Linked DNA regions of Homo sapiens: regions 2, 3, 4, 5, 6 and 7 are each linked to region 1. The links are contacts of gene promoters, found by promoter capture Hi-C in human tissues and cell types (Jung and others, 2019). All regions are on one chromosome and are shown on one strand. Each heading gives the region's core, a stretch centred on a gene start or on the middle of the fragment in contact. The rest is flanking DNA. Distances are from core to core; before and after follow the strand shown.

Evidence for each region. The method cuts DNA at HindIII sites, captures the fragments that hold promoters and counts their contacts. A contact is called where the count stands out against the background at its distance.
Region 2: a contact is called between a fragment that was not itself captured here and the fragment with the promoter of DENND1A in region 1, in 1 of the 25 tissues and cell types used here (dorsolateral prefrontal cortex).
Region 3: a fragment that was not itself captured here is called in contact with the fragment with the promoter of DENND1A in region 1 in 2 of the 25 tissues and cell types used here (bladder and spleen).
Region 4: a fragment that was not itself captured here is called in contact with the fragment with the promoter of DENND1A in region 1 in 3 of the 25 tissues and cell types used here (IMR-90 fibroblasts, mesenchymal stem cells and spleen).
Region 5: a fragment that was not itself captured here is called in contact with the fragment with the promoter of DENND1A in region 1 in 7 of the 25 tissues and cell types used here (IMR-90 fibroblasts, aorta, dorsolateral prefrontal cortex and 4 more).
Region 6: a contact is called between a fragment that was not itself captured here and the fragment with the promoter of DENND1A in region 1, in 1 of the 25 tissues and cell types used here (liver).
Region 7: a fragment that was not itself captured here is called in contact with the fragment with the promoter of DENND1A in region 1 in 2 of the 25 tissues and cell types used here (H1 embryonic stem cells and aorta).

Annotation. Positions count from the first base shown.
Region 1 is chr9:123,928,569-123,931,477 of GRCh38, forward strand. DENND1A (DENN domain containing 1A) reads right to left here and starts at 1,558. Exons shown (of 24, transcript NM_001352964.2): 1 at 1,321-1,558. The coding sequence starts at 1,337. RefSeq lists enhancers at 415-494, 430-1,115, 745-944 and a silencer at 1,295-1,784. The HindIII fragment of the contact is 15,721 bases long and covers 1-2,909 here.
Region 2 is chr9:123,433,493-123,436,401 of GRCh38, forward strand. All of the region lies in intron 19 of DENND1A (DENN domain containing 1A), which reads right to left. Among named protein-coding and RNA genes, the nearest start is that of MIR601, 32 kb to the left of the region's middle. The HindIII fragment of the contact is 6,550 bases long and covers 1-2,909 here.
Region 3 is chr9:123,516,945-123,519,853 of GRCh38, forward strand. All of the region lies in intron 13 of DENND1A (DENN domain containing 1A), which reads right to left. Among named protein-coding and RNA genes, the nearest start is that of MIR7150, 33 kb to the left of the region's middle. The HindIII fragment of the contact is 4,477 bases long and covers 1-2,909 here.
Region 4 is chr9:123,547,915-123,550,823 of GRCh38, forward strand. All of the region lies in intron 13 of DENND1A (DENN domain containing 1A), which reads right to left. Among named protein-coding and RNA genes, the nearest start is that of MIR7150, 64 kb to the left of the region's middle. The HindIII fragment of the contact is 5,418 bases long and covers 1-2,909 here.
Region 5 is chr9:123,577,471-123,580,379 of GRCh38, forward strand. The region is part of intron 12 of DENND1A (DENN domain containing 1A); the gene reads right to left. LOC105376266 (a long non-coding RNA gene) reads right to left here. Exons shown (of 2, transcript XR_930332.3): 1 at 1-2,909. Among named protein-coding and RNA genes, the nearest start is that of MIR7150, 93 kb to the left of the region's middle. The HindIII fragment of the contact is 6,217 bases long and covers 1-2,909 here.
Region 6 is chr9:123,597,181-123,600,089 of GRCh38, forward strand. All of the region lies in intron 11 of DENND1A (DENN domain containing 1A), which reads right to left. Among named protein-coding and RNA genes, the nearest start is that of MIR7150, 110 kb to the left of the region's middle. The HindIII fragment of the contact is 3,343 bases long and covers 1-2,909 here.
Region 7 is chr9:123,617,419-123,620,327 of GRCh38, forward strand. The region is part of intron 10 of DENND1A (DENN domain containing 1A); the gene reads right to left. Among named protein-coding and RNA genes, the nearest start is that of MIR7150, 130 kb to the left of the region's middle. The HindIII fragment of the contact is 5,109 bases long and covers 1-2,909 here.

The DNA.
Region 1 (2,909 bases), core at 308-2,807:
TCATGCGACTCTTCCATTTTCATTACCATAAGCAAACTTTTCTAGTTTCATTCAGCAGATGTCTCAAGGCTGCTGCAGCGCATCTCATACATATTTTGTAAATGAGAAGCCTAACCACACGGGGGACTGCAAGGCTGGGCAAGGGTCACACTGCACGGGCATCACCTGGACATGAGATGCAATGTTTGAATAATTATTAGTTTCACCCTTAAGGCCCTTCTCCTTTCAAACTTCCCTAGTACAATTCTCAAAATGCTGAAATAAACACATTCCACAAACTTTCTTGTAAGAGGGTTTAAAGTGTCCTAGGAAAGTTGTTTTACAGAAAAGCCTATGCTGTCAACTTTGCTTTTTAATGCCCTTAAACAATTCTATTAGTCACAGAGGAAAAAGTGAACATTTGTTAGTAATTAGAGATAAAACATCTCCAGTTCTGGGGCAGAGGAAGGGAGAGGCCACAAGAGGACCTGGCTGGGAGGGGAGATAGAGTCGAAAGCCACACACCCAAATTGGACCGCTTAAGAGTTGCACTTTCCAAAGTCAACTTCTAAGTCTACAAGGACAGCAACAATGTTTCAGTGGATTCTGAAGTTACATGTATCAACAATTTCCCCGGAAAGCTAACCCTCCACCGGGAACTCCAGGTGAATGAATGAGTGAGGGAATTCGCCAGATTGAGTTACAAAGCCTTTCCAACGATTATCAAGAGCAGGTGCTCGGTTACAACACAGAGGTATCCTCCTTCACAGCCTTTGGACCTTGCTGCGTGGAGATTTTCACAGATAAGAGGGGGGAAATAGAGAGACAGGCCTTCCTCCCCGGCCATCCACACCTTAGGTGGCCACACCATGAGCGGCCCCTCCCTCTAAGAACCTCACGCGACTTCTGTGGGGGCCGCAGGCCTCAAGCGGCCAGGCTGCAACCTCTCCGGACCTGCCAACTTTCAGGGGCGCCCCAAACATGCCCAAACATGGGGAGGTGCTTCCGGGGCTTTCCCACTCCCCTTCCCCACAGTTGAAGGACCATTTTCAGGGGCTCTCCGTAAACCCGGGGAGGGGGCCGCCCTGTAATCTCAGCTGTTCCGACCCCCAGGTGAGGAGGGGACACCTGACCCCCGGCGCCCTGCCACCCCGCGCGCACCCCGCCCCCGCGCCTCCCTGGATCGCCATAGCAACCGTCCCCCTCCCCGCGTGCCGGCGTCACGCGGGGCGCCCCTCTGGTCTCGGCAACAAGTCCCCCGCGCGGCCCGCGGCCTGCAGCCCTGGCCCGGCCTCGCCGCCCCGCGCCCGGCCCGGCTCCGCCCGGCCCGGCCGCACTCACTTGATCCTGGAGCCCATGGTCCCCAGGCCTCCTCATGGGCCCGCGGGCCCCGCTCGGCGCTGCGCTGCCCGCCCGCCCGCGGCCGACCGGCCTCCCTCTGGCGCTCTCCCCGCCCCTTCCTCCCTTCCCTCAGGCTGGGGCCCGCCCGCTCGAGGCTCGCTCCCTCGCCGCCGCCGCCGCCTCCAGGGGTTAATGTACTCGCTCCAGCCCGGCGAACGCCATGGTCGCCGGCGCGCGTGCCCGGCGCGCGCCGCCCCCTCCGCCTCTCACCACCGCCCCTCCCGCCCGCGCTGCCGCCGCCGCTGCCCGCTGGGGCTGCTGGGAAGTGTAGTCCGCTCGCGGGGGCGGGGCCGTGGCCGGTGGGGGCGGGGCGGGAGCGCGGTCACCCGCACGTCTCCCAGGGCGCGGGCCCCGGAGGACTCTGGCGTTCCGTTGCAGGCCCTTACACATCTGCACCCCACTGCGCCCCGCTGGAAACCTCCACTCACAGCCGCCCTGAAGAGACCCTAATCCTCTCATGGAGACCCCAAGCCCTCCCGATGAAACCGCCACCAATCCTCCCATTGGAGGCCTCCCACCCAGCCTCTCTAACGGAGAGCTAATCCCCCGCCCAGGCCTCCATGAAAACACGTTTTCCCTTTAACATCCCGCACCTTCCAGTAAGTTCCGTGCAGAACCTCTTCTCCATCACACCGTCCACTTCCCCATCTGAAGGCCTTTCCTCTTCCTTTCCCCTTAGAGCTTGAAGGAGACCCCACATACCTACAGGAAAGCCACCTGGGGGCTTCGTGGACCCACGTGGTGGCTCAGCTCTGCCCTCCCGCTGAGGACCTCTGCCTCCCTTTATCAGCCGTTTTGGGAACTCCAACATCGAAGCCTCCTGTTAACACAACAGTCCCTGATAGAGATTAACTCAATGCAAATGAAAGGATTTGAGAGCCGAGATCACCAGCCTGCTACCTACCCCTGCTCCCCCTTGGGATTCACTTCCATGAACACCTCAATTTCATCCCCTCTAGGGCCAGAGGGATCATAAAGGAAGCAATAATCACAGCTACCATTAGCCACCCTTTAATGAGCGGGTGAGTGCCCTTTCTGCATCAGACACAGTATTTCCGTACATCATTAGTGCCAATCCTCACAATAATCCTGTGTTCATCTCCCTAATTTACAAAGAGGAAACTGAGCCACATTCCCAAGGTCACATAACTAGCAACGAGTGAAGAAGCCAAGATTAGTGTCCAGACTGAATCATTCCAGACACCTGTGACATAGTCATGCTTTAAGGTGGCACCTTTGGCCACAAGTCCAAAGACATTTTTAATATTAGGCTTTTTTTCCTTTTTTTTTTTTTTTTTCCAATTTTCTGTCCCGAAATGCCATTCATCACTTCTGCCATTTTAGTTCTTATAAATGCATGGAGTGCCTCCCCACCCTACCCCCACCCCATAGCCTCTACGTAACTGGTCCTGCGTCCTAGCTCCCGGCCAGGATGGGAGGAAAGAAAGCCAGAAGATAAGTCGTAGAAGACTTCTTCTGTTGGAGTCACCTTCTGAATAAAGATAGTTTCTCCCTTTTGCCTCTGCCTT
Region 2 (2,909 bases), core at 261-2,760, 500 kb before region 1:
CATTGTGTTACTTCACCCCACAGACTTCAGCCTGCCTCTCCTAGGAATAAAGATAAACCCCTACAAAACTATCATATTAACATTAATCCCACATCATCATCTAACATTCCAGTCCATCTTCAAATTTTCCAACTTTCCCAAGAATGTCTTTAAAGCTTTTTTCTTTTTTCTTTTTTTTAAAAAAACAACAACACATAATCCAAGTTAGGTTCACACTTTGCACTTGGTCATGTATCCTAGTCTCTTTCACAGATAAAACCTTTACGCCTAATTTATCCTGTTGCTTGCTTCGCTTGATGTGACTCAAGGGATGATGGGCCCCTCCCTTCCCCTGACTGCTTTCCCCACTGTGCTGCTCCTGCACAGCTCTGCCCATCCTTGGGCACAGGAGAAGGGGGGTCCCAGTTCCCTGCCTCATTCCTCTCCATTCCCTTCCGGGGACACCTATGACTGACCTTAGGAACTAGGAAAAACACACAAAATAAAATGAGACGGGATCTAAATTGCTATAACACAAAGCTGTTTCTATTTGGAAACAAAATCCTTTTTTTTGAGATGGAGTCTCACTCTGTCACCCAGGCTGGCGTGCGGTGGCACAATCTCGGCTCACTGCAACCTCTGCCTCCCGGGTTCAAGCAATTCTCCTGCCTCAGCCTCCTGAGAAGCTGGGACTACAGGCGCATGCCATCATGCCTGGCTAATTTTTGTATTTTTAGTAGAGACAGGGTTTCACCATGTTGGCCAGGCTGGTCTTGAACTCCTGACCTCAGGTGATCCACCTGCCTTGGCCTCCCACAGTGCTGGGATTACAGGCGTGAGCCACCATGCCCGGCCTCACTTCAAAATCCTTCTTTATGGAAAGTGAATTTGGAAATAGTTTGTGACCACTAAGGGAATGTTCATTTTTCTTCTTCAAATGAATTAGAATTACAAGCATAGCAACAGAAATGAAACCAAATAACTTGCTGAATGCACAGCAAGTGCTTCAACAACAATCAATTATTCCTTAATTTAAACATCCACACCAATAATAAAACCCCAGGATGTGCACTGACTGCCAGCTCAGTGCCAGGCCCTGCAGTGGACTTTCTGGTGGGAAGGCAAGCATTAAAGAAAAATTGCAGGGCTGCGTGACAAGCGGCGTGTGCATAGTCCTGGGGTAGCACGAGGACAGAAGCAACTCACTCTTCCTAGGGGAGTTGGGAGAATTTACCAGGAGGCCTGCTCTGGGATTGGACAGGCAGGTCACAAAGGGGCCAAGGAGGAAGATGGAGTCTTTAGGAGAGGCTGGGAGCGGGGGTGAGGCGGCCACTAGTGCATGCTTACAGTAAGTGCATGCTTACAGTGGACCCGGCTTACAGTGGACCCGGCAAGGCCACATGGGGACTACAGGGAGTACCAGTTAGGAGCCTGTGAAACAGTCCAGGTGAATGATTATGCTGCCTGCACCACAGCTGTGGCAAAGGTGATGGAGAGGAGAGGATGAAGTAGTGTTCAGGGGTGGAAGGAGAGGATCTGGGGAGAAGGAGGGCGGAGCCTGGCTCTGGATGGCCAGCCTGTGTCATTCACTGGGGTGGAAGATGGAGGAGTGAGTTTGGTGGGGAGTGTATGTTCAGACCAGAGGCCTGGGGTGTGCAGTATCCTGAGAACATGGGAGCACCTGCTGGAGGTGGTGAGGAGGCAATGGCTGAAGTGAAGGGAATTGCATGTGGCTTCCAAGCTCAGTGGGGCAAGAGGACTCTCTCAGGGCACTCAGAGCCAAGGGTGCTGAGAAGGCATTTGCTAGCTCGGCATCTTCTCCAGCCTAGCATGGGATTGGCACTAAATGACCTGGCTGATGACCCTGATGCCAGAATTCTCCATACGCAGAGACAAGCCGGCAACCACATCCCAAGAGCTGTTCCTGGGGCTGCTATCCAGACCTCCCTGCCACAGTTCTCTGGAAGCCACGGTGGTGCTTGGTTTTGGTTTTGGTTTAACCAGCTTTTCAAACTTTACATTAAAGAGGTTTAGAAACCTTTGTTCAGATGGGAGAAGAACAGAGGCAGCACCTTTCAATACATGCTTTTTGCAATCTATCAGATTGGAAGGCAGGCAACTACTTTGTTTGCAGATCAGTCATTTGGAGGAAATACAAAGAAGGGGGCCCTGGAAGGGGTTTGCTGTGATATTCTCAGGGAAGCCTCAGTCTCTAGCCTTGGCTATCTGCACCTAGGACTAGGGTCCAGTGTCACTGAACTCACACAATCAGGCCATTCTCCTGGCAAGGAGGGAGAGCTGCACACAGCCAAGAGAAGCAGAGGTGCTGCTGCTGCTGGATTTGGAGTAGGAATTAGCTACTCATTCCAGCAACGCCGTTCCAGTGTGCCTCCTCATGTGTACGATGGGTAAAATGATTTCTTCCTCACCCGCTGATGGCAAAGTCTCAAGTCAGTGCTCACGGATGTGAAAGCATCTATGGCTCACCCATCTTATTAAATGTAGGGAGCAGAGCAGTTTCCACAGGGGTCCTCGGGAGGGAAGCCAGTCAAGGCCAGCCATTCTAACCAAGGGGTGCCCAGGGCTGCCGGGGAGGACACCACTCACTCACTCCTTCTATAGCTGTGGGAAGGAGGAGCTTCCATTTCCTACCCTAGGAGAGAAAACCAGGGGGGAATCCTTGGCTTGGCCAGGCACCCTCTTGTTCAACCCCTCCCAGAGGAAGAGGAAGAATGCCTTCCCGGGGAGTCTGGGAGAAGGAACTGAGCTCCATCACCCCTTCCAGCTCCCTCCTGGGGAGCAGCCAGGGCAACGCCCTCCCGCAGCTCCTCCTTGCTAGGAGTCTATGGGCAGCTCCAACCTGGAGAGACCTGCCATTGTCCACTTATCTCGAGTGGAGAAACGCGGTCTTCACATTCTCAGGTGAAGTG
Region 3 (2,909 bases), core at 204-2,703, 410 kb before region 1:
GAAATGAAACTTGTCAAGTGTCTCAAGGACCTTAAAAATAATCATATCCTTTAATCCAGAACTGGAATTGCTGGGAATTTAGTTTAAGGAAAAACTCTAAAATTCAATGAATCTTTATATATAAGGTGAAACCCTGTCTCTACTAAAAACACAAAAAAGTTAGCCAGGCGTGGTGGCGGGCACCTGTAGTCCCAGCTACTCGGGAGGCTGAGGCAGGAGAATGGTGTGAACCCGGGATGTGGAGCTTGCAGTGAGCCGAGATCGCACCACTGCACTCCAGCCTGGGCAACAGAGCAAGACTCCGTCTCAGAAAAAAAAAAAACAAAAAACCCACAAAACCCCCCCCAAAAAACCCATTCATATCACAACAACAAAAATTTAAACAGGAAGGGAGGGCCGGGCATGGTGGCTCATGCCTGTAATCCCAGCACTCGGGAGGCCAAGGTGGGTGGATCACTTGAGGCCAGGAGTTTGAGACCAGCCTGGCTAACATGGTGAAATCCTGTCTCTGCTAAAAATACAAAAAATTAGCTGAGCATGGTGGTGCGCCTGAATTCCCAGTTATTTGGGAGGCTGAGACAGGAGAATTGCTTGAACCCAGGAGGGGGAGGTTGCAGTCAGCTGAGACCGTACCACTGCACTCCAGCCTGGGCAACAGAGCAAGACCCTGTCTCAAAAAAACAACAGCAAAACAAAACAAAACAAAACAAACAAAAAAAACAAGAGGGGCACAGTTAAATAAACTGTGGCACAGTGAGGCAAATTCAAGCAGAGGAATTGCGCAACCATTTACAACTGATTATTTACACACAATATCTCATAGTGTGAGGAAAATCCATATAATTGCATGAAAAAGGAAGAAAAATGATATTGACTGAACTCAATTATTTAAAAAGGCATAAAAAACACTTGTAAAGAGAAGTAGCAAAATTGAATGCGGAACGCCTCTGGGTGGTGGAAATGTGAGTGACCTTTCTTTCTCTATGCTTTTCTGTCTTTTCCAAATTTTCTGCATTAAAAATGTTACTTTTATAATCAGAAAAAAATATATATTATTATTTTTTAGGTGTTGTCTCAAGCTGACCCTTTTTTCCTGGCATAAATTTTCATGATTGCTCTTGTTATTACAAGAAGAGAAACTTTCCAAGTGACTGAGTAGCCCTGAGCGGCATTAGGGATTCACCTACACGGGGTAGATTTAAACTGGCACAAAGGACCTTATAAGTAGGAATATTCAAAGGCAATTAGCTGGTAACAATATTATAATAGAAAGGGAGCCAAATAAATGTTTCCTCGACATCATTAATTTAGTTGTAAAATAGACTCAGAGTTACTCTGATAACCCCATATAAAGAAGGCACTCATTATAAAGACAGCCATGTGTTGAACAAGAAAATGTAGATGCAGAGATGGCTTTGCTGTACACAACTAAGATATTCCCACGGAGACAGCAGTTCTCAAAATATCACCCTCAAAAACAAAAGCTTCATCTAGGAAAACAATCCCAGTAAAATGCTAATTGAGTTGGTCCTGCCCACCTACCCCAGAATCCAGCTGTCCTACTCCTCCCTACTCTGGCTCAGCTAAATGCTGTGACCCAGGGCAGGCCACTCCTCAGAACTTTCTTATTTGCAAAGGGGATATAATAATTTATTTTAAAAAATGACTGTCTAGGCATACAGAGAAGACTGGACAAGAGAGCCCATGGGAATGGAGCTAGCACAGTACCTGGCAAGTCCTACTGATCCCATCTCCAAAAAAGCTCTTTCCTCTCCATTTCCACTGACACCACAGTCCATGCCACCCCCACCTGTCTAGGTGGTCTAGGTGATCATCACAGGGACCTTCCAATTGTTCTCTGTGCTTTCATAAAGCCATCCTCTGAGCAGCCAGCAGGACTTTTAACAAATATAAAATTAACTGTGTCACACCCATTTTAAAAAGCCCTACACTGGCCTTCCACTGATTTTGAATAAAACCCAAACTCCTTTCTATGGCCTCTAAAACCTTGCATGACGTGAACCTGCCTAAATCTGTAACTTCAACTCAAGCCACTCACCTTGCTTGCTACATCCTGGGCTCCCCCGTTCCCTTCGGTCCCTCCTAGGGGCCGTGTTGCCTCCCTTCTCTGCCTGGAACATTTTCTCCCCTCCACCCAACACGGATGGCTGATGTCAGCTCCAAGAGGACTTCCCTGATGCACCATCTGAAGGAGAAGCACCAAACTCTGCTCACCTCCTGTACAGCGCGGATGGAACTGTAAATGGTACATCGGTCTGTCTCCTTGTTTACTATTGTATTTCCCTACAGTGTAAGCTCCTTGAAGGAGGGGATCATCTGTCTCCAGTCACTATTGTTGGCTGCCCACCCAGCCCTCATTCCCTCCTCTCTCTAGCCTAACAGAACCCCCAATTTGTTCATGCCTCCCTCCTCCTCCATGAGGCTGACTCTTTCAGATTCCATCCCCAGAGCTGGGCTGGGTCCTCATATCTTTTTAAATTTTTTTTTTTTGAGGCAGAGTCTCACCCTGCTGCCCAGGCTGGAATGTGGTGGCACGATCTTGGTTCACTGCAACCTCCACCTGCCAGGTTCAAGTGATCCTTGCGTCTCAGCCTCCTGAATAACTAGGATTACAGGCTAATTTTTATATTTTTAGTAGAGAAAGGTTTCTGTCATGTTGGCCAGGCCGGTCTTGAACTCTTGGTCTTAAGTGATTTGCCTGCCTGACCTCCCAAAGTGCTTTGATTACAGATGTGAGCCACCACACCTGGCCTGGGTCCTCATATCTAAGTTAACCTGGTGGCCTCACTTCCTTGCCAGTGATGGGCTGGAGCAGAGGCATGGCATGTGACTCAATTCTGGTCAATGGCACTGGAGGAGAAGTCACCAGGAGAGCATCTGGGAAAGCC
Region 4 (2,909 bases), core at 214-2,713, 380 kb before region 1:
CTATCAGCAAGGCACTATGCTGGTGTTTGGTGCATATTATTGCTATTTTTCTCAAGAGTCCTGCTAGCTAGGCATTATTTACATCTTACACATGAGAAAAGTGAGTCTCAGGATGGTGAAGTAACTTCCAGAGTCATCTTCTAGTAGATGACAGAACTAGAATTAAAACCCAGGTGATTCCAAAGGCCATACTCCTTCCATCACATTCGGTGGCCTCCTTAGCCACTTAGAGCCACAGAGCTATAGTGATGGTCCCTGAAGTCCTGGGGCAGAAGCACCTCCCCTTATCCTTGCTTCATTCCCAGGACATGATCTTGACTTCAGATGACCACTAAAATGGGAAAAAATGTTAATTAGCAAGTTACCAGCCCCTTCTGCAGTCCCCTTTACACTCCCCCATCAATGAATCTGCTTAGCTCCGGCCTGTAGGTTTTGGCTATAATTCCTTATCCACTTGCCTAAAATATACCGGAAAATAAAACAAATGTTTCATGAACTTTTCCTACAGATATTCTTGGGTCCATATTCGTGCTTCCCACAGACACTGCTACCCACTTAACAAAAGCACGGACTCTGTGAAAAACATTTTGGAGGTTCCTCAAAAAGTTAAACGTAGAATTACCAGATGACCCACAACTGCGCTTTTAGGTATATAGCCAAATGACTTGCAAGCAGGTGTTCAACTATTAATTATACACACACATTCACAGCAGCACTACTCATAACAGCCAAAACATAGAAACAACCCAGGTGTCCATTAACAAGTGAGTGGATAAACAAAATATGGTATATACAGATAGTGGAATATTATTCAGTCTTAAAGAGGGCTGAAGTTCTGATGCATGCTATAACACGGATGAACCTGGTGAACATGATGCTACCAAAATAAGCCAGGCAAAGGGACAAATATTGAATGATTCCGCTTCTATGAACTATCTAGAATAGGCAAATTCATAGAGACAGAAAGTAGACTAGAGGTTACTAAGGGCTGGGGGAAAGGGAAATGAGAAGTTCTTGCTCACTGGATACAGAGGTTCTGTTGGGAGTGATGAAAAATGTTGCAAATAGACAGTAGTGATGGTTGCACATTGTGAATGCCATTCATGCCAATGAACTGTATACTTAACAATGGTTAAAATAGCACATCTTATGTTATATGTATTTTTTACATTTTTTTTCCTTAAAGCATGGGCTCTTTAGACAGACCTGGGTGTGATGGGGTGAGTCCCAGCTCCACCACTCCCAACCTGTGTGGAGGGTCACAGAGCCTCACACAGACACACAGCTGCACACACACATCAGTCCCTTCCAGGCGTCATGCAGTTTCCTCTTTCTCCCGGTTTCCTTGCTTCCTTATCTCTCATCTTGCTGTACTGTACATAGTGTCTTAAGGTTCCTCAAACCTATTTTCAGCACAAGATGGGGGCACAGACAAATTAGTCACATCCCTTATGTGTGTTCTGGGAATCCTCTGCTTGTCTGTGTGGAGGGCAGGGAGTGCGCACCCTCCCACCCATCAAGGGTTCTTGATTCTTTTTCCATCTTGAGCCACCGCGAGGCTGAGTCAACCGAAATCTGCTTTCTTGCGATGCTGTGACAAGTTGGCCCCCACAGTCAGGCTCCTGCTCACAGACTCAGTTCTTCCACTCAGAAGGCTTTGAAATACAGCATTTCAAAGCTTTATTCACAAAGATGTTTAGTGGAGTATTACTTATAATATCAAAAGACTGGAAATAACCTAAATGTCCAACAAGGGAGGGTGGTTATGGAAATTATGGTAGTTATACTTGATGGAATATTCTGCAGTTATGTAAAAATGCATATGAAATCTTGTTAAATGGGGGCGGGGAACTAACTTTTAACTGAGATTTGCTTGTACCTATGTAAACCCTTTGCATAATGAAAAAATAAAGAGTAAATACAAAAGGCATATGTAGTAAAAATCAGTGGGACTATGGTGCTGTTTTGATTTTACTACTTTAAAAATATTTTTCTGCTTTCCACTACACCAAAAACAAATCCGAAAACAGTTTTTATTGTTTTTTCATAAACAACTTGAGATCAACAGGGTTACTCAATCAGGACACAGATATATGTGGTGTTTTTCCAACCTGCTCCAACACAACCTCGTGCATTCATCCTTGAAAGCCAGGCTATCAATCTGCTTTTATCTCAACTTCTGCGTCCTCCAGGGGTTTTAGGTGGATAAATATGACTCAGCAGAATCACATGCAAAATCATGGGCTATAAGGTGGATGATACCAGTGTACCCACAGCTGAATCTGGAAGCTGGCCTCTTGGGATGAACTAAGCAAGTGGGACCAGAGTGAGCTGGCTGCTGCCTGTTTAAACAGTTTGCTTACTGCCCCCACCCAGCATTCGCTCCCTGTGGGCAGTAGCTCTGTTCCCTTTATCTTAGGGAAGCCCAGCTAGCAGGTTGGCCCAGAGAGGGCCACACAAGCTAGCTGAATAAACAGCTCCCATAGTGCTCCATCTACACTGGCCTTTCCACAGACACTGGCACAGAAGAGGACGCGTCTTCAAACACCAATACCCATGGGTTTTGCTCTTTAACCTAACATATACCAAGGACCTGCGGTGGGCCAGACATGGGGAGAGGAACCCTCACATGCACCGTCATGCAGCATGGGTTATGAAATAAGAAACTCTAAGCAGAAAAGGGGATGAATTGAAAGCACACAAATCTATCTGCAAAAGTTCTTTAAAACTGAGACCAGCGTGTGTGAAATGTGTTTCGAGGGGGGTGTATTAGCCTTATTCAGATTTCATGATGATATAATTTTAAACAAAGGAGTGAGGTAAAAGATTGTTTAAAAAATTCTTTCGTTCTCTCTAGGAAGGAGGAATATTCAAGGCAAATTTTAGAACCATACTGCTACACATATCCT
Region 5 (2,909 bases), core at 253-2,752, 350 kb before region 1:
GACTAATTTTCCTCTTGTTAGGGGTGACATTTTCCTCATTCTCAACATGTCTTGCACTTTTAAAATAAGATGTTAGATACTGTGAATGTTATGTTATCGAATATTGGATTGTGTTGCCTTCTTTTAAAGAGGGTTGAAGTTTATTTTGACACAAGGTTAGATTTCTTGCACATCAGATTGATCTTTTAAAGACTTCTTTAAAAAGAAATAGGTTTGTTTAAAACTTTTCATCGAAGTTTAACATACACACATAAAAATGCACACACCATTGGTGCTCAGCTTGACGAATTCACCCCCATGTAACTGGCACTCAGATTAAAATCCAGCACATTTTAGGACCCCTAAAGCCCTCTCTTGTGCCTCTCAAAGCTTAATTTTAAGCTCTTTCAGGGCAGGGCTAAAATGATCTTTATAGCTAATTTAGATGTACTATCAAGTCATGCCCTACTGGTGTCTCTTATCATTGTCCTGAATGACCAACAAGATCTCTGACTCTGGTTGGTCAGAACCTGCAGGATTCCTAGACTTGTGTGAGCTCTGAGAACTGTTCATCTTATAGTTTCCTGTCAGGAGTTTTACCCTACATATGGGCAGATTAGTCTTCAGCAGGTTTGTCAATTCAGGTTTCTGGAGCTCTTCAGCTGAGTAGCTCCCTCCTGTCTGATACTCTCACTTGCAAATGTAAACCATCTCCCCTTCAAACTGTTCTTTAATCTTTCAGCTCCCCAAGACTGTTGTGCTTTGCTGGGGATTCCCCTTCTAGTACCAATATCCAGAAAATGCCTCAAGGCAGAAAGCCAGTGGGATAGTAGGCCTCACCTCACTGGCTTCCTTTCACTCAGGGATAACAATCTTGTCTTGTCTGTTGTCCAACATGTGAAAACAGCTGTTTTCATATTTGTCCAGAGTTTTAAATTGTGGGAGGATTAATCCAGTTCCAATTATTCTATCATGGCTGGAGAGCAGTGGCGCAATCACAGCTCACTGCAAACTTGAATTCTTGGCCTCAAGCAATTCTTCTGCCTCAGACTCCCAAAATGCTGGGATTATAGGCATGAGCCACCATGTCTGGCCCCAAGCCTCTTTTAATAAAGTTTCCAGCGTAGATGCCATGTTTTACAAGATTTCATCTACCATAATAACCCAATCCATATGTGCCTTCCATCCTTCCATCTATCTATTCAGTGGCTGCTAGATTCTTGGAAAACAAAGATGAATAAAACTCAATTACTGCTACTCCAAAAAACTGACAAGTAAAAGGGAAATGGGCAATAAATCAGTACAATTACACAAGGTACACAAGGGGCTGTGGGGACATAGAGAAAGATATGGTCAAATCTACGTGAAGGTCAGAAAAGATTCAGTGTGTGTTTGTGTGTGTGTGTGTGCATGTGTTTGTGTGTGTGTGTGATTAAATACTTGAGAGCAGGTCTTGAAGAATGAGTGAGAGATTAATAGATGAGGTAAGACACTGGGACAAAAGAAATGCTGCATACAAAGTATGAAGTTATGAAACAACATGTAAATTTGGGACAACCATTAACAGTTCTAAAAACCTACAGTACAGAGTTTAAAGCAGGGAGGAGAGAGAACTACAGCTATGGAGAAACAAAAACAGGGGGGTATCATGAAGGAGGGCTGAATGCCCTGCGGATCATAATTCACATCCATAATTCATCATCATCAGCTACTGTCGATTGTGCTGATAGGATATATGTTTTAAATATATTATATATATTACATTTAATTCTCAAACAACCTTATGTGGAAATTAAGTCTTAGAGAGCTTAAGTAATTTTGCCCAAGATCACACGGACATGAAGTGAGGAAGCCAGGATGTGAAAACAGGTCTGTTTGATTTCAAAGCCAACAAAGGGAAGTTGCCTTGAATCTCTAGGTAATGGGAAGTTATAGGAGAATTTTTTTGTCCTTAAATGTTTTTTTGAAAAATTACATTCACTGATGGAATAGTTTTAGTTAGGTGGGAAATGGAGTTTATGTTTTTAGAAAGGTCACTCTGGGGCATGAGGCGGAAAGATTGGAGGGATGAGGCTGGAGTCAGATGAGCCAGTCTTGAGTCTGCTGGTAATAATGCAGGGGGAAAATAAAAGCTTAGATTAGGTGGTGTTTAGGAGGGATGAGGAAGAGGATGTGGATTTACCAAATGTTTAAGAAGCAGAATCTGTCAGAGTAAACACACAACTTTGGCCAAAGGGGAGATTTTAAGGTCAACGATGGATAGGCTGATACACTAAAATTACCAGGTCCTATGCCAAATGCAGGGGACACAAAGACAGGCAGGGCACGATTTCTCCTCTTGATAGCTCATGTAGCATCACAGAATCAAAGCTGTGAATTCCATTGAAATACAATAAATACCTTACAGACCACATCTCCCCCCATTACAATCTTCAGAATCCTTAATGAGTATAGAGGCCCAAGCTGGAAACCACTGCTGTAGAACATTCTCAACCCTGTTACAAACCAGCTTGCATATAGGAGGTCCCATTTGTGCACGCTGAGACTGTCAGGACATAGAGGTTATTAACTGTCCTCCAATCTTGCCTATAATTATCAGCAACAATTTTATTAAAAACAAATGCAGGTACCATTTCTTGAATGCTGACAACATGCAAGCACTGTGCCAAGCATTTGATAATCATTACCATAGCTGTTTGCCATAATAATCCTCAGAGCAAGCCTGGTACTCCTCTTTTAATGTGGAAAACTGAGGCTCAAAGAGGGAAAATAACTCACCCAAGTTACTTTGGTTCCCTGAGGCTACCTCATTTTGTCATTTAAAAGGCATCTTGGAATTTGCCATCTTCAGAAAGACTCCATTATCCTCCCCAAAATTTTGTTACTCTCTCTCCTGGGCCCTTCTGTGCCCGACTCCTATTTCCCTGTGG
Region 6 (2,909 bases), core at 210-2,709, 330 kb before region 1:
TGAAATGTCAATTTTTAAAGAGTGGAGAGGTTGGAAACCCAATTTAACAAGCACGCTGAAACATTGTTTATTGCCCCCATAAACATGGCTTAGTGAGAATTACGGACTTAATCAGAGTGAACTTATCTTGCGGTGAAAAGGAACACTTTAAATTTCAGAAATGGCACCTTCACTGTGAAAATCTCTTAACTTTTCAAACAAACTACAGGGGGTCTTAAACATATGGGCAGTAAAGGGGCAGCTATTACTTTGATTTGTCCTACCCACGAGCCTAGGAGCCCTCACAGTCCTTAACAACTTTAAGATCTAGGAAAAATACTTGGAAAATCATATTCAGGAGACATGTCTCTAAAAGCACCCAAAAGGTCTGCAGAGTGAGAAGTGAGACCTGTATAGCTGCTCTTGGGGTTATTCAAAAGGATGGGCCCTAGGGTCATTAGAACAGGGGCTATTTAATAAGCAGCAGCAGTGAGAAAGTGCACCCCTCCTCCTAAGATTAAACATTTAGCAATAGGTAATATTTTGCTGACCTGCTTTTCAGAAGAGAGGTGCTACACAAATCTAAAAGGCTGCTAAATGGTTTGTGTGGGTCTTCTTTATTTATAAACCCCCTCCCTCCTGCTGAGGATGACGTCCTATGAACCCCAACTTCCCAATCTGAGGCTTCATTAATGCTACTCAGATCATTCCAGGGAAGGTTTTCATAAAGACGACCCCATCTTGCAGACAACGTATCAGCCTGGCTGCCAGAGGCAGGAAAGGCAATAGATATAAAATTTTATTATTTCAATGCCCCAGTAGCAGCCAGGAGGACTTAATGAAATCGCCAAGATTTACAATCTGAAATAGCTATTGCACAGACAGATACAGTTAAGGGAGCTGAGCCCTCTGACCTTTCAACCCTTTGATCTTCACTCGGCAGGTGGCCTGGAGCCCCCTCCTGGGCATCTTCCCTCTCTTCTGACACTGCCAAACCTTGATGTGCAATAAGCCTGACCCTACACAGGTGACTCTCCCGGTGCTTATCACCAGCAGCTGCTGCTAATGGCACGGCCAAAATCACTCCGAGGCAGGGAAGGGGAATATACTGTGCAGTGTCCAAATGGTGCTGAAACAAGGCTCAATAACTCAGCCCCAAGTCCAGTTGTGCAGCAGTGCATAATGATGTCATTACCCAAAAGTGTCCTTAGAAAATGGAACTCTGATCTCCCCTGATTTACACTTTGAGGTTGGGGGAGGGGGGAAAATCACCTTTTAAAACTCAATCACAAATCTCAAAAAAAAAAAAAAAAAAAAACCAACCCCAAAGTCCCAAATGCATCTCTCAGAACTTCCCCAAAACCATGTGCAGCAAATTTATACCAGCGAAAATCTAAACAATTTTTGGAAACCTAAAATTGACTGTTTTCAGTTCCATGAAATTTCATTTAAAAAACCCCATATGCCAAAATGTCCAAATTCTCTTATTTTTAAAAATTGGGATGACATCCAAAAATCATAGCTATCTTTTTCTTTCTTTTTTTTCCCCCTTCTTCTAAAGCTAGGGATGGGTAGTGTGCATATGTACTTATCAAGCTTCATAATTTAACCCATTCGGTCAGTACAAAATATTTGCAGTTAAATGCTGAAGAGGGAGGATATAAATTTATTACCACTGGATCTTTGGAAACAACGGACTCCTAGGCACCAAGGTTTAGCAGACATTATATTTGGCTAAGGAAGTGTCCAGGAGTCTAGGCACAGCTCCAATCTGCACCTTTTAGCTTTTGTCAATATTTGGGTTTATGGAGGGAAGGATTTTAGGCAAGACACATAAACCACTCTCAGGGATGTTGATAACTTCCAACCACAAAACAAAACTTCAGTGCCACTGTTCATCATACTTCAGAAAAGCCCCCAGTCAATGCCTTTGTTTCTAAACAAACATAGAATGGTGGTCCCAAGCTTTACCTGCAAAGGCCTGAACTTAGATCATAAATGTTTGAATCCAATAGCCAAAGAAAAAACCTACTTCTTTTGTAGCCTAAACGGCATATCTCTTAAGTGTCCAACTTTAATTTCATCTTGAAATCAGCTGAGAATCAAACAATATGTAAAGAGAGATCTATAGACTCCATTTTTAAACACACTTTTCTCTCTGGATGTTTAACTTTAGTACAGAGAGTAGTGTGTGGAGAAATTAGTTTAGCAGGGGGGAAAAAAGGCATGGTTACTACATCACAGTTTGACCTCTTTGTACAAAACGACTGTTGAGCTATCTTCTAGAGATGCCTATTGGAAATATTTTATTCATAATAATAGCTACCAGAGGGTGATGGCCTAGTAATGTTCATGGCACTTCGGTCATATTATTTCTAATTGTCATCACTTTATGGCAGGTGTCCTCATTTTGCTGATGGGGATATTAAGGCACACACCCACAGAAGCTCAGCGACTTGCCCAAATTACAGATAGATAAATGGCAGAGCTGGGATTCAAACTCAGGTTCACTGACTGCTCAAAAAGCCCATGGTCCAGCCACATTTTCCCCAACAAAAGCAAAACACGAACAAACAGAACAAGAACATGCATTAATTTGTGCAGAAAATGCCGGATTTCGGCTTGCTTACACATTGCCCTGGCCCATTTAACGGCCTTCCAAATCAATTATTTTAGGTCATTAAGAGGAAGTTTAATTTGGTTGACAAACACCCCTACTGTGGTGACCTCACATATCAACAACAAATGCCTGATGGTCACAAACCCATACCATGAGTCGGCTGAGCATGGTGTTAAACAAAACCACATGCGCCCAGATTTCAAGTGGGATTTGTCTAGGCCAAGGGTACGGCTCTTCAATCATCACACTGCTGGTCTCTGAGCTCCCACAATGGCCCCGCCCCTAATCACTTGCAAGGAGTTTATGAAGT
Region 7 (2,909 bases), core at 226-2,725, 310 kb before region 1:
GTGACTGGGAAAGGGAGGACAATGCCCTTCTGAGTGTGGCTTTGTGGCTTCCTGGGGTAACCTATGCAGGTGGGGGTGGTGGAGATGCCTTCTAGAGCCCCAAGCCACTGGACCCAACAGAAATGAACACATGAGTTACAAAGATAACACCTGGACAAAATTCTGGAGAGGTCAACATCAAAGCCTGGGGTAGCCCGCCCTTTTGAGCCTCCTTGGCCTACCGGAAGGCGACAGACTCGGAAAACATCAGGAAGGGCTCCGTGGCTAAGACCACTGCGGCAGGAGAAGTTAATCACAGAGCAAAGGTCAGGAGACAGGGCTCTCTGCTGCCACAGAGAATTCAATGAGAACCGTAATAGCTAAAGCCAGACACGGAAAGGAAGTCTCAAGTTGTGAGCCACAAGCAGCCCATGAGAGCCTGTGGAAACACATGAATGAATGAGCCACAAAATAAATAAGAGAAAAAGAGAAAGAGGCTTATGGAGAAATAAATGAAGAGAAAGTAACAGAAAAAAAGGATAAAAAAATAGCGCAACTGATAATAAAAGGAGATTTTCTCTTGCTGTTTTTCCAGGACTCATCCCATGTGCCAAGATGCATAGCATCCAATTACCTTTGCAGCCTCGCCTTTCCATTCATCACGTTTTAAAGGGAAGACGAACCCGCACTTGCTGAGAGGTCACTCAGAGCCTATCACTATGCTGGTGCTGCACATACTGTCCCTGGTGCCAGCACCTGAAAAAGGCAGGCACACTATCTCCAGAAGCCCTGCCATGAGGTCACTTGCTGCACTGCTGAAACTTCCTGTGACCCTGATGTTACTTGGTCTGTGGCCTCTGCCTTATGGGTGAACTATGGCTCCCAGGAACATATCTAGAGTGTCGTTGCTATAGAGCCCCCTATACTGTGCCCCAGAATGTCCAGAGTTTTCTAAGTGTTGGGTTCAAGCCAGGCTCCAAATCAGGGAGGAATGAGGAATGTGTCACTCACGTACAGAATGTGTCATGAGAAATGGAAAACCAGGCCAATGCTCAGGCAGGTAGGCAGGAGTCGGGGCCAGCAACGTTGCATGGAGGCCAGCAGAAACTAGGGCAGGGGAGGCGGGCTGTTGCCCCTCCCGACATTAGGCAGAAGGAGGGGGCTGGGGAAGGTGGGAGCGGCAGGGCAGGTCCAGAGGCTCAGAGGCAGATACAGTAGCCAGGAGGTGGTTAGGCTGTGGTCCAGACAGCTCCCCAAAGGGTGGGTGGCTGAGCCAACAAGCACCATTCCCCTATGTGGGAAGGTCACTCCTGTGTTAAAGGGACACCTTGTCTTCTTTAACCCTGAAAGTCTCAGTAACGCTGGGAGTGACACTGCTGAGGCCAGTGAGAGCTGTCCCGCTATACTCCTGACATCGGTGCCTTCCGGGGTGCCTCTAGAGGGACAGGGCTAAAGGCTGAATGGCAACCATCTACACAGACTAACCCATTTTTATAGACCTTTCGCTTTTTGCTATATGTACTTTAAAAGGCTAAAAAAGTTTTTTATTTCTTCTTATTATTATTTTTGAGACAGAGTCTCGTTCTGTCACCCAGGCTGGAGTGCAGTGACGCGATCTCAGCTCACTGCAACCTCCACCTCTCAGGTTCAAGTGATTCTCCTGCCTCAGCCTCAGAGTAGCTGGGATTACAGGCACACGCCACCACGCCCAGCTAATTTTTGCATTTTTAGTAGAGACGGGGTCTCACCATGTTAGCCAAGCTGGTCTTGAACTCCTGATCTCAGGTGATCCACCCACCTGGGCCTCCCAAAGCGCTGGGATTACAGGCATGAGCCACCGCACCCAGCCTAAAAAAGTTTTTTATAATAAGAATGTATTACTTTACTAACAATATAGACTGTATTAAAAATCTAATGTGTCTGGAATTAGTGGTGGTGATATATCTATTAGATGGATAGTGGATTAGATAGTTGGAATAGACTACAAACCACTGATCTGTATACATACATTGATTGACTGATTGATTGATTGATTGATTGAGACAGAGTCTCACTCTCCTTGACCAGGTTGGAGTGCAATGGCGTGATCACAGCTCGTTGCAGCCTCAACTCTCCACGTTCAGGTGATTCTTCTACTTCAGCCTCACAGAGAGCTGGGACTACGGGTACACACCATCACACCTGGCTAATTTTTGTATTTGTTTTACAGGGACATGATTTTGCCATGTTGCCCAGGATTGGTCTCGAACTCCTAGGCTCAAGCAATCTGCCCACCTCCCAAAGTGCTGGCATTACAGGTGTGAGCCACTGCAGTTCGGGCCAGAACTGTATACTTTTAAAAGGGTGAATTTTGTGGTATGTGGATTAAATTTCAACTTAAAAAATGTAGCAGAGAAATTGAAAAGACAGTTTTCCTATAGAGTCTTCAGTATAGAGATCAGCACAGAATCTGTAACATAGATAATACAAAGGGCCCAGTCTCTTCTTTACCTAATTTTTCCACCTGGAAAACAGTTCACATTGAAATTGTCCAGTCTGGGCATGGTGGCTTACACCTGTAATCACAGCACTTTGGGAGGCCAAGGTGGGCGGATCATTTGAGGTCAGGAGTTTGAGACCAGCCTGACCAACATAGTGAAACCCCTTCTCTACTAAAAATACAAAAAATTAGCTGGGTGTGGTGGCGCATATCTGTAATCTCAGCTACTTGGGAGGCTGAGGCAGAAGAATTGCTTGAACCCAGGAGGCGAAGGTTGCAGTGAGCTGAGATCGCACCACTGCACTCCAGCCTGGGTGAGAGAGTAAGACTCCATCTCAAAAAAAAAAAAAAAAAAAAAAAAAGAAAAGAAAAAGAAAAAAAGGAAAAAAGAAATCATCCAAAGCTTCCCTACAAGGCTCTTGGCACATTCAGTCTTGGGTGCTGCTCAAGG